Linked DNA regions of Homo sapiens: region 1 is linked to region 2. Evidence: promoter capture Hi-C in 16 types of primary human blood cells and fetal thymus (Javierre and others, 2016). All regions are on one chromosome and are shown on one strand. The core of a region is centred on a gene start or on the middle of the fragment in contact, and the rest is flanking DNA. Distances in the headings are between cores, read along the strand shown.

Region 1 (5,410 bases), core at 881-3,380, 1.1 Mb after region 2:
ACAAAATTTGCCACCATTGGCAGGGGGTGGGGGGAATTAAATACATATTCAAGTCTTTCCAAAGGCCTTTTGGAGACAACCGAATGGCTTCTAAGCTGTCTGTGGCCAACCTGGACCACATCAGGAGACAGTATCTTTGAGCTTGGAGACAATTTTCTTGTCCTTCACTCTTCGGTTCTGAAACCAAATGGTCACTTGTCTCTCAGATAGGTTCGTAGCAGCCGAGATACGCCGCCGCTTGTCCTTGTTAATGAATTTGTTAATGGCATACTCGTTCTCCAGTTCTTTAAGCTGCAGTTTGGTGTAAGGCACTCTCTTCTTCCTCCCTCTTCGGTAGACGCACATGTCCGGCTGATTTAGAGCCACATCCCCTGATACAAACAAAAGCACAAGAAAAATTAGGCTGGGATATTCGGAGCACCTAGCTGAGGATTGTGTGTGTGTGTGTGTGTGTGTGTGTGTGTGCGTTTGCAGGGGTGCAGGAAATTTTTAAAAAATGCCATGCTGTTTGGTCTTTATTATGTACATAGACATAACACTTACCTGTTATTAAAGAAGGATTATTTGCACTTAACAACAATGGTTAATTTGATTGATTATCATAGTTTCTCAAACCGGCATCTTAACAAGCTTGCAATTTTATGGTGTGGTTATTGGGCACGTTCATGAGGACAGTTTCTGCAAATGTCGGTTGTATAAAAACAAACTTACATACATAGACACATACCAACTCAGGTCTTTTGCTCAAATTTTGATTTCCCGCGTTCCTATGTTAGGAGTTCGTGAGCTTGATCTAACAAGCTTTAGTAGTCATCTTGGGGCAGTGATGTCTTTGAAAATGGGGGGACCCAACTCTGTCAGGTTTCTTAGGAAAAAGTTCTCTTTAGGAGAAAAGGGAGAGGCCCAAGGAAAGGGCACGCAGAGACTCTCAACTTTAGGAGAAAAACGTGTCTGCGCTGCACACAGGAAAGAAAGGGCAGTGACGGAGGCAGTTGAAATCAGAGGAGGAATTTACAGATTTCACACGAACTGGACAAATTTCCACTGGGTTAACCCTGGTCACGTGTGGAGCACAGGCACAACTCCCACTCCCAAGTAGGGGCGCATACTCTTAGTCCTTTCTTTTCTCCTTCTCTCTCCCCCTCCCTCGTGTCGGTCCCTTTTCTCCATCGCCCCTACCTGGAAAGGAAGATTTCCAAAAGTGGGACCCCTGTGGCTGGTCCTTGGTGCAGTACACCTGGCTGTTCCACCCGTTAGCCAGCGTCCAGGACTGGTACCCCTCCATGGAGATGTAGGCCTCGTGCCGAGGCTCCCCGGAGCCGAAAGTGGACACCATGTCGATATAGCCGGGCACGTGCTGGTAAGGGCTCGTATAGCCCTGGTAGAAGGATACCTCCTTGGCTCGCGCTGGCACCTCGTTGGCCGGTACGCTGCTGCTCGCCAGGCCTGACACGTCCATGTACTTCTCCACGGGAAAGCCTCCCAGCGAGGCGTGCGGCGATGACTTGAGCGCATTCTGCTGTAAGCCCACGCCGTGCGACATACGGCAGCTGTAGTAGCCGTTGCCGAAGTGGTAGCCGTAGCCCAGCGCTGGAGCGCTCGGGGGCGCTGCAGCGGCCGCTGCAGGCGTGGGTGCTGGGCACTCTTTGGCTGGGGGAGCCTCCGGGCGCGCCGCTACAACGGCAGAAGAGGACGACGACGAGGAAGAGCCCGTGCGCTCAGAGGTCCCGGGGTACGCAAAGCCGGAGGCTGCCGCCGCCGCCGCCGCAGCCGCCGCTGCCGCCGCCGCCGCCCGCCCCGAATGCGTCCCGGCGAACACAGGCGCGGAGAGAAAGCCGCGGCACTGGCCTGACGCCGCCGCCGCCGCCACCGATGAGGAGGAGGAAGAGGCCGGGGCGCCACCGGCGCCCCCGCCGTCTGCCCGCAGCCCGTCCATGTCCCAGCTCCCGGCGCGGCTCATGGCCCGGCCTGGCCCGGCCCCGGCCCTGGCCCTGGCCCCGCGCAGGACACCATGGCGCGGCGCGCCTCCTCCCTCCTCTCCTTTCTCTCTGGTTCGCTCGCTCCCGCCCTCTTCCTCTAGCCCTCTCTCCCTCTGTGAGCCTCCCGCCTCCGGCCCGCCTGCCCTCCAACAGGTTAGCTCATCGCGGGACGTTTATAAAAACGAAGTTCAGGTTGGGAGGGGGCCTGGGCCGGTCGGGGGGCCGCCTCCCGCCCCGAGGGCCCCCGCCGGGGGCGTGCCATTGGCTGCGCGCGGCCACGTGGGGGTAGGAACGCGGGGGAGCCTGGCTCCCGGCCCAGGCCTGGCTGGACCCACCCACTCCGGCCCCCACCCCTCTCCTGCCCCTTGCAGGGTCCACCTCCCATTCCCGCCCTCCCCCCCGACCCAGGCGTACGCGCTGCAGCCACCCCCACGAGTTGATTGCGCGACGGCCCATCCCAGGCCCTGTCTGCGACTGAGGCGGGCGCCAAGGCCTGCGCCTTGTCTCGGCAACCGCTGTTTTTGCCACCTCTCCTCGGCTCCCCGAGTTGCACAGCAAAATGAAGACGAAGGACAGAGATGATCAGAATGATGTGAAAACAGGCCCATTTTTTTATCCTGTTGCTGAATCCCTCAGTTAGTCGACTTCTAGACCCCAAATCCGAGTGAGCTAATTTGCCCTACCTTGTGCACTGGTACCCGGCAAAGGCATTTCACACAGGTAAGAGGCATTGGAGCAGACCCTTCCTATACACACACGCTGTCCGTTCGGAAAATGCCCATGAAGCGCCCTTGGGGCTGGCGGCAGAGACTTAAACAGATGAAAGACAGGCATCGGCGCAGTGAGCCTGACAATCTGTCCCAGAAAGAAAAGTCCATGGATGCCTACTCAACGCTCTTCGCCTCTACTCTTGGGCCAGCCGGGAGTGCTTCCGACCTGGGCCTCTCAGCTCCCGCGGGTCCTTCTTCGACCCGCAGAAAGACCCTGAGAACGGCGCCGGGGGAGAAAGCCACTCAGCCTCCCACCGTGAAACTTCTGTGTCTCTCCAGCAGCCGACCGGCCTCGCATTTTGCAGTCACCACCCACTCCCGCCCGTTTCTCACACCAAATTAATTGAAAACTTCACTTTCCCAGGGACCTTTGTTTCGCTTCCTTTTCCAAGCTGTCAACTGCAGAGAACTGAGAGGGGCAAATTAAGAGGGCGCTTGTTCCAAGCAAATTCGGATTTTGTGATAGGAGCAGCCCAGAGAAACGGTCTGACTTCAAGGGGTTAGGTGGGCTCAGGGCAGTGCTGGTGGGGCTAGGTCCAGCTCTGGAACCAAGCTGCCAGGGTGTTAGGGATTACAGCCCTGTCCCTCATCATCCCTTTCTGTTGCTCCTCAGCCTCAGAGCTCCAGCCCACCATCCCTCAATCTCAGCAACTAATGGGGCACCAATGAGAGTCCTGCTGTGACTTTGGGGCTCTGCCTTAGGAACAATATTAGATCCAATGAGCCCAGGGTTCTGGGGGTGGATATGGGATCCTTCAGAGCCCATTTGGTTCTGTGGCATGCACTCCCCAAGCCAGCCCATCTCCAAGAAAATCACTCCCCTAAGCCTGTGATTGGTGAAAGCTTGTCACCCAGCACCACTGTTCCCCGACCAAAGATGCCCTGAGTAAGATGAGGAAGAGAGCCAGGAAGGCCCTCCTTGGCCTGGCCTGGCATTTCAGGGTAGGCTGCTGGTGTTAGGAGTGTTGACATGCAAAACGCAGTAACCATAAAAGGCTCAAATAAAGGGGAAAGTTATGAGAGGGGTGTTGGAAAGGAAAAGCAAGAGAATTCGTTTCATCGTTTTGAAGTTCTAGACATGTTCATGATCAAATTTGAGATGGGAGGGGCCTGAATTTACAGGAAATCATAGGGAATAGAAGTTTGCTGATGAGAAAATTTTTTTCACTATTTGGGAAAAGAAGGCAAAAGTCAGCAATGAAAGTTCAACCAGCATTTTAAAAAGGCCAACTGTGGCGAGGCGACAGGATTGCTAACTTTTAAAGAGGGTTTGGCTGGGTCTTTATGAAACAATTTTGGTACCAAACCACCAACCATGGGCCACCATGAAATGCTTTTATTTTCCCTTTGTCTCATTTTTTCTTCCTCAGACAGAGAAAACATGAAGATAGTTTTAACTTTTTATGACTCCAAAAAACAAATTCGTTGAAATATTTCTAAGATATAAGTAGAACCAACAAACTTTCAGTCTCTTAAAATTAAATATCCCTGTGGTTTTGTGCCTTGGGCTTCTGCTTCATTTTCTCACTGATAAGTACATTTTAATGATCAATTATGTGTTTAACAATAAAGTAAAATGAAAATGGGAAGAATGTGTCAAGTTTTGTTGATTTCAAGCAGCCCATCACTTCTGGCTGAATTTTCCATTCAGCAAATTAAGTTGTGCAGGAGTGGGAGAAAAATCTGAATTACTACTCAGGTTGAAAGGGATTTCTCAATGGTGGCTCTGCTTCCAAAAGCCCTGTGGGACCCTCTCAGAGCAGGGCAAAAGTTTTCTCTGTCCATCCTAATGGTTGTTCAGAAGCCAGGAAGATTTTGAATTAGGAGCTTTGCCCCTTGATATCCTGCTGCTGAACCTGCTTCCAGCATAGCCTTTGGGGTCCCAGCCCTGTGGGAGGGCTTTGCCCTGAGGAAAGGGGGTCTGACTTTGTCCACTTGGGCTCCAAAGCCCAGCACCTCTGGACAAATTCTACTGGCTCCTAGGGCTGTGGTTGAGTACAAGGCAAAGTCAGGGCTGCTTTGTTTATGAACTAATGAGACACATAGTTTACAAGCCAGGGATGCCAGGTAGAGGAGGAATTTTGAGGCTGAATTTGCAGAAACATTTCATTCAGGTTTAAACTTACTGGGAATCAGTTTCTTTAGGTGGCCAGGAACACAGACCAAGCCTTGTGTTTGTGTGTGGGTGCATTATGCAGGGGTTTTTAACAACAGAAATAGGCTTTGTTAAGTGAGAATCCTTGGAGACTACACATGTCTCCAAACGTGTGTCTTCTTCAGTGAAACCAGTTTTGCCGCTGTTCCTGATTTTGGTGAAAAACTCAGGATGACCCTATGGTGCCCAAAGTCCCACTGTATTCTCCCATCACTTGCTCCTCTTCCTCCTTTTCTTCCAGAGGCATCCTTTTTAAGCATCAGTGCTGTTCTGGAAGTCATATTCTCTCCTTTCAACCTAGTAGATGATCTTTCAAATTTTGCTCTTGTCCTGGTTTGGGGGAATGGGCAGATACAGGCTGTGATTTAGATTTATTGAAGTTGCTCTGCTTGCCAAGACAGCAATGAGCTCAATTAACCACATAATCAGTGGCCATTAAGGCCAGGATCACAGGATTCTATCAGAGTGGGGTCCTGGGGACTCCTTTGAAAGCACTTGTCTTGATG
Region 2 (5,468 bases), core at 271-2,770:
TGTATATATATATATGCATATGTTTTATAAAAGCATACGTTTTAAAGTTTTTCCTTTTGGGAAAAAATACATACTTGAATATAGTTATTGAGGCCTTACTCTTTTTTTTTTTTTTTTGAGGTGGACTCTCACTCCATCACCCAGGCTGGAGTGCAGTGGGACCATGTTGGCTCACTGCAACCTCCATCTCTTGGGCCCAAGCAATTCTCCTGCCTCAGCTTCCCAAGTAGCTGGGATTATAGGTGCTCACTACCATGCCCGGCTAATTTTTTTATGTTTTTAGTAGAGATGGGGTTTCACCATGTTGGCCAGGCTGGTCTCGAACTCCTGACCTCAGGTGATCCACCCGCCTCGGCCTCCCAAAGTGCTGGGATTACAGGCGTGAGCCACCGCGCCTGGCCGAGGCCTTACTCTTAAAACCAAGGTGACCCTTAGTTTTGAAAAGTACAGAGCACTATAATGAATGATTAACAAATTATGCTCTGCAAAACAAAACTTAGTTGTGCATTAATACTAGTAGATACTATTTCTGCATTCTTATTTGTGCTAGGCAATGTGCTAAATGCTTTATGTACATTAACCTCATTTTAGTTCATTTAACTTCACAAGAAAGCCGTTGGTTAGGAATTTTTACCCTCATTTTACAGGTGGGAAAACGGAAACAGAGTTGAGTGACTTACTCAAGGTCTCAGAGTTAGTCAGTGGTAAAGTTAGTATTTGGATTCATGGCTATCCAATTACCCATACAGCATATTGAACAAGATCAAGAGGTTTAAAATACCTGTAAAATTTTTGATTAGTTAAATATGATGTGGAAAAATATAATAATGATGGCAATAAATAACCAATAAATGTTAGAAGACAGAGTTTAAGAGACAAGGATATGATACATAACCCCTTTTCTCCTGTAGAAGTAGATGAGGAAGTTATAGTAGAGGAGATGCGATGATAGTTCTGTAAAACTGTGAAGTAAGCATTGATTATTTGCTTGATTCATTAATTTACTTAACTAGGTTTTTGTTGGCCACTCTGTTGGGTGGTGGTATAGAAAGATCAGTAGGAAAGGTGCCTGCCTTTACAGAGTTGGCAGTCTTTTGAGTATGTAGACCATCCATGGGTAAATAGTGCAGAGGTTCAAGAATGATCATAGATTGTACTGATTACAAAGGAAGGTATATAATGTAGAAAGAGGTGCATGGTGGGTGGGAGGGAGACCTGTCCTGAGTTTTAAAGTTCATTATGTGAGGCAGGTAATATGGTCAAGATTCCAGGTAGAGAAAACAGGTGGTAGAAAGCCAAGAAGGTCCAAATGAGAGTGGGTAGGTTAGTGCAGTAATTGATGAGCCCGAAGACAGACAGATAGAAAGACTAGATCTTCCATGGCTGAACAAGATAGAGGTTGCTATAAGGCTGTGGGGAAGAGGCATGGTGAGATCCACATGTTAGGACAAATGCACTGGCTGCAGTGTGGAGAGAGGGTTGGAAAGGGGCCATGCTGGAGAAAACCAGTTAGGAGGCTGTTGCAGACAGGAGGAAAGTGACAAGGGCCTGATAGTGGGCAATGATGGGGGTTTTAGTGAGAAGGGGACAGCCCAGGTTATCAAAGAAAACGAGAAGAAAAGTTTCAAGGAGGAAGAAAAAGTAAATAGTATCAAATGATGTAGAGAAAAGATATTCATTGGGTTGAATAACAAGATCTCTGGTGACTCTTGCTAGAGAAGCAAGTGTTAGTGGTTCACAGAGAAGCCCATGGGGTGGAGGAGTGACCCAAGGGTGAGTGGGAAGGAAACACAGTGAGTGCCCAGTGTTTTCCTTTGCTACTCCCTGTGCTGATTTCCTCCTCTACTTCCAATCTCGGGAAAGAAAAAAAACACTTATTGGACAATTAGTGAAAACTAGTGCGTGCTGTAAGCCTCAAAATGACCCTATGATGTTGGGCCCACTGTGATCTTTATTTTCTAGGTGGGGAACAAAGAGCTTGAGAGATTTATACCCCAGCCCAAGATCCACAGTCATTAAATGGCAGGGCTCTAGTTCAAATCCAGGTCAGTGTGATTCCAGAGCTCACAGTCTCACCACTACTCTCTTCTAGAATTTACAGTCTTCATGCTTTGCTCTTCTCTCCTTCCCTCTCAAGACTGCAATCATGGAGCTGATAGACTTATTTTCACCAAAACATAAATGATGGGCACAGCTTATTATGTTTTTTTTCTGGATGCATTTTGAAATGACCATTGGATGTACTTCTTTTGCATTTTTATTGTGAAATACAGAACCAGTTTTGGCACTTTATGTAAGTGGAATCATTTGTATTCTTCTGTGTCTTGCTGCTTTTGCTCAAAATTGTATTTTGCGATTCATCCATGTTGAGTGTGGCATTAGTGCATTCATTTTCAATGCTGAATAATATTTCCTTACGTGAATTTACCATGTTATTTGCCATGCTATTTTATTCTTTAGGGACTTGTGGGTTATTTCTAGTGTTGAACAATTGTGACCGATGTTGTCTCTTTTTTTAAAAGTTCATTTTTCTGTTCAAGAAGGTCTAAGAATGTGATTTTAAACATCTTTAAATATTTTAGGAGGTCAGGATCCCTTTCCAATTCCCTTGAAATGAAACCTGACAAGTGGTTCCTGTGGGTTCCTGATTTGCTTACTCATGAGACCAAACCTGAGAAGTCTGAGGAGCATTTCTAAATTAAAATGTTTAAATAGGTCAGGTGAACTGAAAAAACAAAGAAACAGTTATTACCAGATCTCCCATTTCCCCTAGCTCTTCCACTTCATTGTTGCAATCTTAGCGAAATGCAGTCAGCTTGCATATTTTCCTGCATCGGTCCTTTGATCAGTAAAGTAATTTCTTTTCCTTCCTTTGTGCAAATCTTTTGATTATAGTAAGTTCATTCTTTAAAGACCAAACGTGGTAAAAAATATTAACAACTTGAATAATTTTAGCAACTATCTAAAATAACTTATTTTGCAGGGGATAAAACTAGAAATATTTACTTTTATAAAGTGAATCATCAAAATATAATACAACCAGTAATAAGATCATAGTGTATCATATATTTTAATAACAACATATAAGATAGACACAGTGTAGTATAGAAGTTCAGGGTATAGGCTCTGGAGTCAGAAAGACCAGGTTCAAATTTCAGTTCCACTTCTTACTGCCCATGTCAATGTGGTGAATTTCTTAACCTTCTAGAAGTAGCTTTCCTCAATTATAAAATAAGGATAATAGTAGTATCTATTTTAATAGGGCCATTGTGACCATCAAGTAAAAAACCTCAATAAATGTTAGTTGTTGTTGATATATTTAGCACATCCAAAGGGTAGAATAACCAGAGTATTTATTAACAAATCTTGTCAGAGATAGTTATCTGCTTATGTTATAGCTATTTATTCAACATTTAATAGGCTCCTCTTCTGAGGCAGAGGTTGTGGATCAGACAAAAGTACAATTTGTGGAGGTAAGACAATTAGAAAATTATGATCAAGTGGCAATGTTAAATAAAATATATTTGAAAACATAAAGTAGGAAGTGATTGCAGAATGTGGATCAATTGAAGGTACAACTTTCTAGGAATTGTATTTTGAATTTGATCTCAAACGAGGTAATAGCCACAACTTTGCCACGAAGAAAATTGAAGTTCTTTCTTCCAGAAAATGTGTGCATGTAAAGAATAGAAGGAAAAATGAGTACGACCTCTTTTGGGGGATAATAGGAATGGAAACTGTGAATGGAATGGGTGAAGAAGGGAGACATAATTGGTGGAATATTTTATAAACAGCTTTTCTTAAGACTCATATTTATTAGATGGTAGGAAAAATAAAAATTCAGTTCCATTTGGATTGGCTTACTGAATTATAAACTTATTAAGGCAAAATGTGACCAATCTGGCAGATTAAAGAAAAGTGGTAATATTTTGGCAAAATAAACTTTCTATATTTTCCTTTTCTTAATAAAGATATAAATAATAAAGCACTTTGACATTTCAGAGATTTGAAATTTATATTGAAAAACCACTCTTGAAATTCCTGTCAGTCATTTGAATCATTTGCTTCTTTTGTCATCTTCTTGTTACTTTTTTTTTTTTTTTTTTAAAGATAAGACTCCTTCCCTATTGCTTCGACTATAGTTAGTATTTTCTAGGTTGGCTGTAGGGATTGTTCCCTGAAGCTTATATACCTCACCACGCGTTGACGACTCCCCCAGGTCAATAGAATCCACTAGGTGGCGCCCAGGTCTACTGCCGCGTCTCGTCTCCGCTGGGCGCAAATCTTGGAACAGCTGTGGATGTTCGAGGAGTGGTTGGAGAGATCAATATGATCCATGTGGAGCAGCTTCCCTACCGTCTGCTCCAAAAGGCTGTAAGCCTGGTGTCCTTCAAACTGTTACTGTAATGAAATACCCGAATATGGACAATGATGGTGTGGTTTTGAGTACGAGAAAGCCTGCGGTTTTGCTTCGTGAGACTTAAAGACGAGCAGGCAGACAGGCATCCATCCAGCTGCAGTTCATAGCCGATGCCCCCGACAAGTAGCAGGCTGGCGACTGAGAAGCTCCCCAGAAGCTACCTTTAATGCCCAAAGATTGATTTAGGCAATGACACTGCAATGTACGGAAGGGGAAAAAGGGACGAGAGGAAGGTATCAAAAAGAGGGAGATTATTTCAATATTAACTTGAGTGCAGGCATAATTCGCTCTCATTTCTGGCAGGCAATTGAGCACTCTGCTTCATATGCAAAATCGAGGGTACATTCTGATGTAGATTTCAGATAGCGGGAAATGAAGGTATTTTGTTTTTCTTTTAAATTGCATTGGGCAATTTCCTTTCTTATATGAAACGCTGTAGGCTTTGTACAATTATTTTATACGTTATTACCATTCTTCTAAAAAGGGACAGCTTTTTTCTTTCCAATTTAAAGTAGTGGATAATGACTTTGGCAGCATTTTCCTGCCTTTTTCAAGTTTATGGAACCCATTCCTCATCATTAGGCTGAAGATGCAGATAAGAAAGGACGAGCCTTTTTCTGGAGCTTGTCACATCAATGTTGCTTCTTAGGTGATTAAAAAGAAAGCAGCGAGGATCTTGGAGAAAACGTCTGACAAAAGGTAATGGAAACCCAGAAACAGACGAAAACCGGTGATAGATTAGGCAAACCTTCTCTGCTAAGTGCATGTGTGCATTTCAGCTCAGGAACAAAAATAAGACCCTGTTCTACGGAGGCTCTTAAAAAACTGACCTGTGCTGGCCCCACACGCTAAGGTTTATTTGAGGCGCCCGAAGGTGATTAGATCCAGGAGGAGGCGTTTTTCTGCAGTTTAGCTTAGGAACTCAGAGCCAGCCAAATGCTTACTGCAGCTGCTTGTTGGCTGGTTCAAAGGTATAGAGCTGCTTTAATTAAAATCGGCAGGCGCGTTTTGATTTTGGTCAAAATAGATTTTGTTATTTTTAAACTTC

The links. Contacts are between HindIII fragments. The CHiCAGO score rates a contact against its expected background, and 5 or more counts as called.
Region 1: the fragment with the promoter of HOXD13 here is called in contact with a fragment that was not itself captured in region 2 in 2 of 17 cell types (naive CD8 T cells and naive CD4 T cells); the score reaches 6.5 in naive CD8 T cells.

What each region holds. Positions count from the first base shown.
Region 1 is chr2:176,089,441-176,094,850 of GRCh38, reverse strand. HOXD13 (homeobox D13) reads right to left here and starts at 2,130. Exons shown (of 2, transcript NM_000523.4): 1 at 1,180-2,130; 2 at 1-371. The coding sequence starts at 1,960. The coding sequence ends at 121. The HindIII fragment of the contact is 2,791 bases long and covers 804-3,594 here.
Region 2 is chr2:177,147,872-177,153,339 of GRCh38, reverse strand. All of the region lies in intron 1 of LOC105373760 (a long non-coding RNA gene), which reads left to right. Among named protein-coding and RNA genes, the nearest start is that of MIR4444-1, 62 kb to the left of the region's middle. RefSeq lists an enhancer at 4,242-4,965. The HindIII fragment of the contact is 5,330 bases long and covers 1-4,185 here.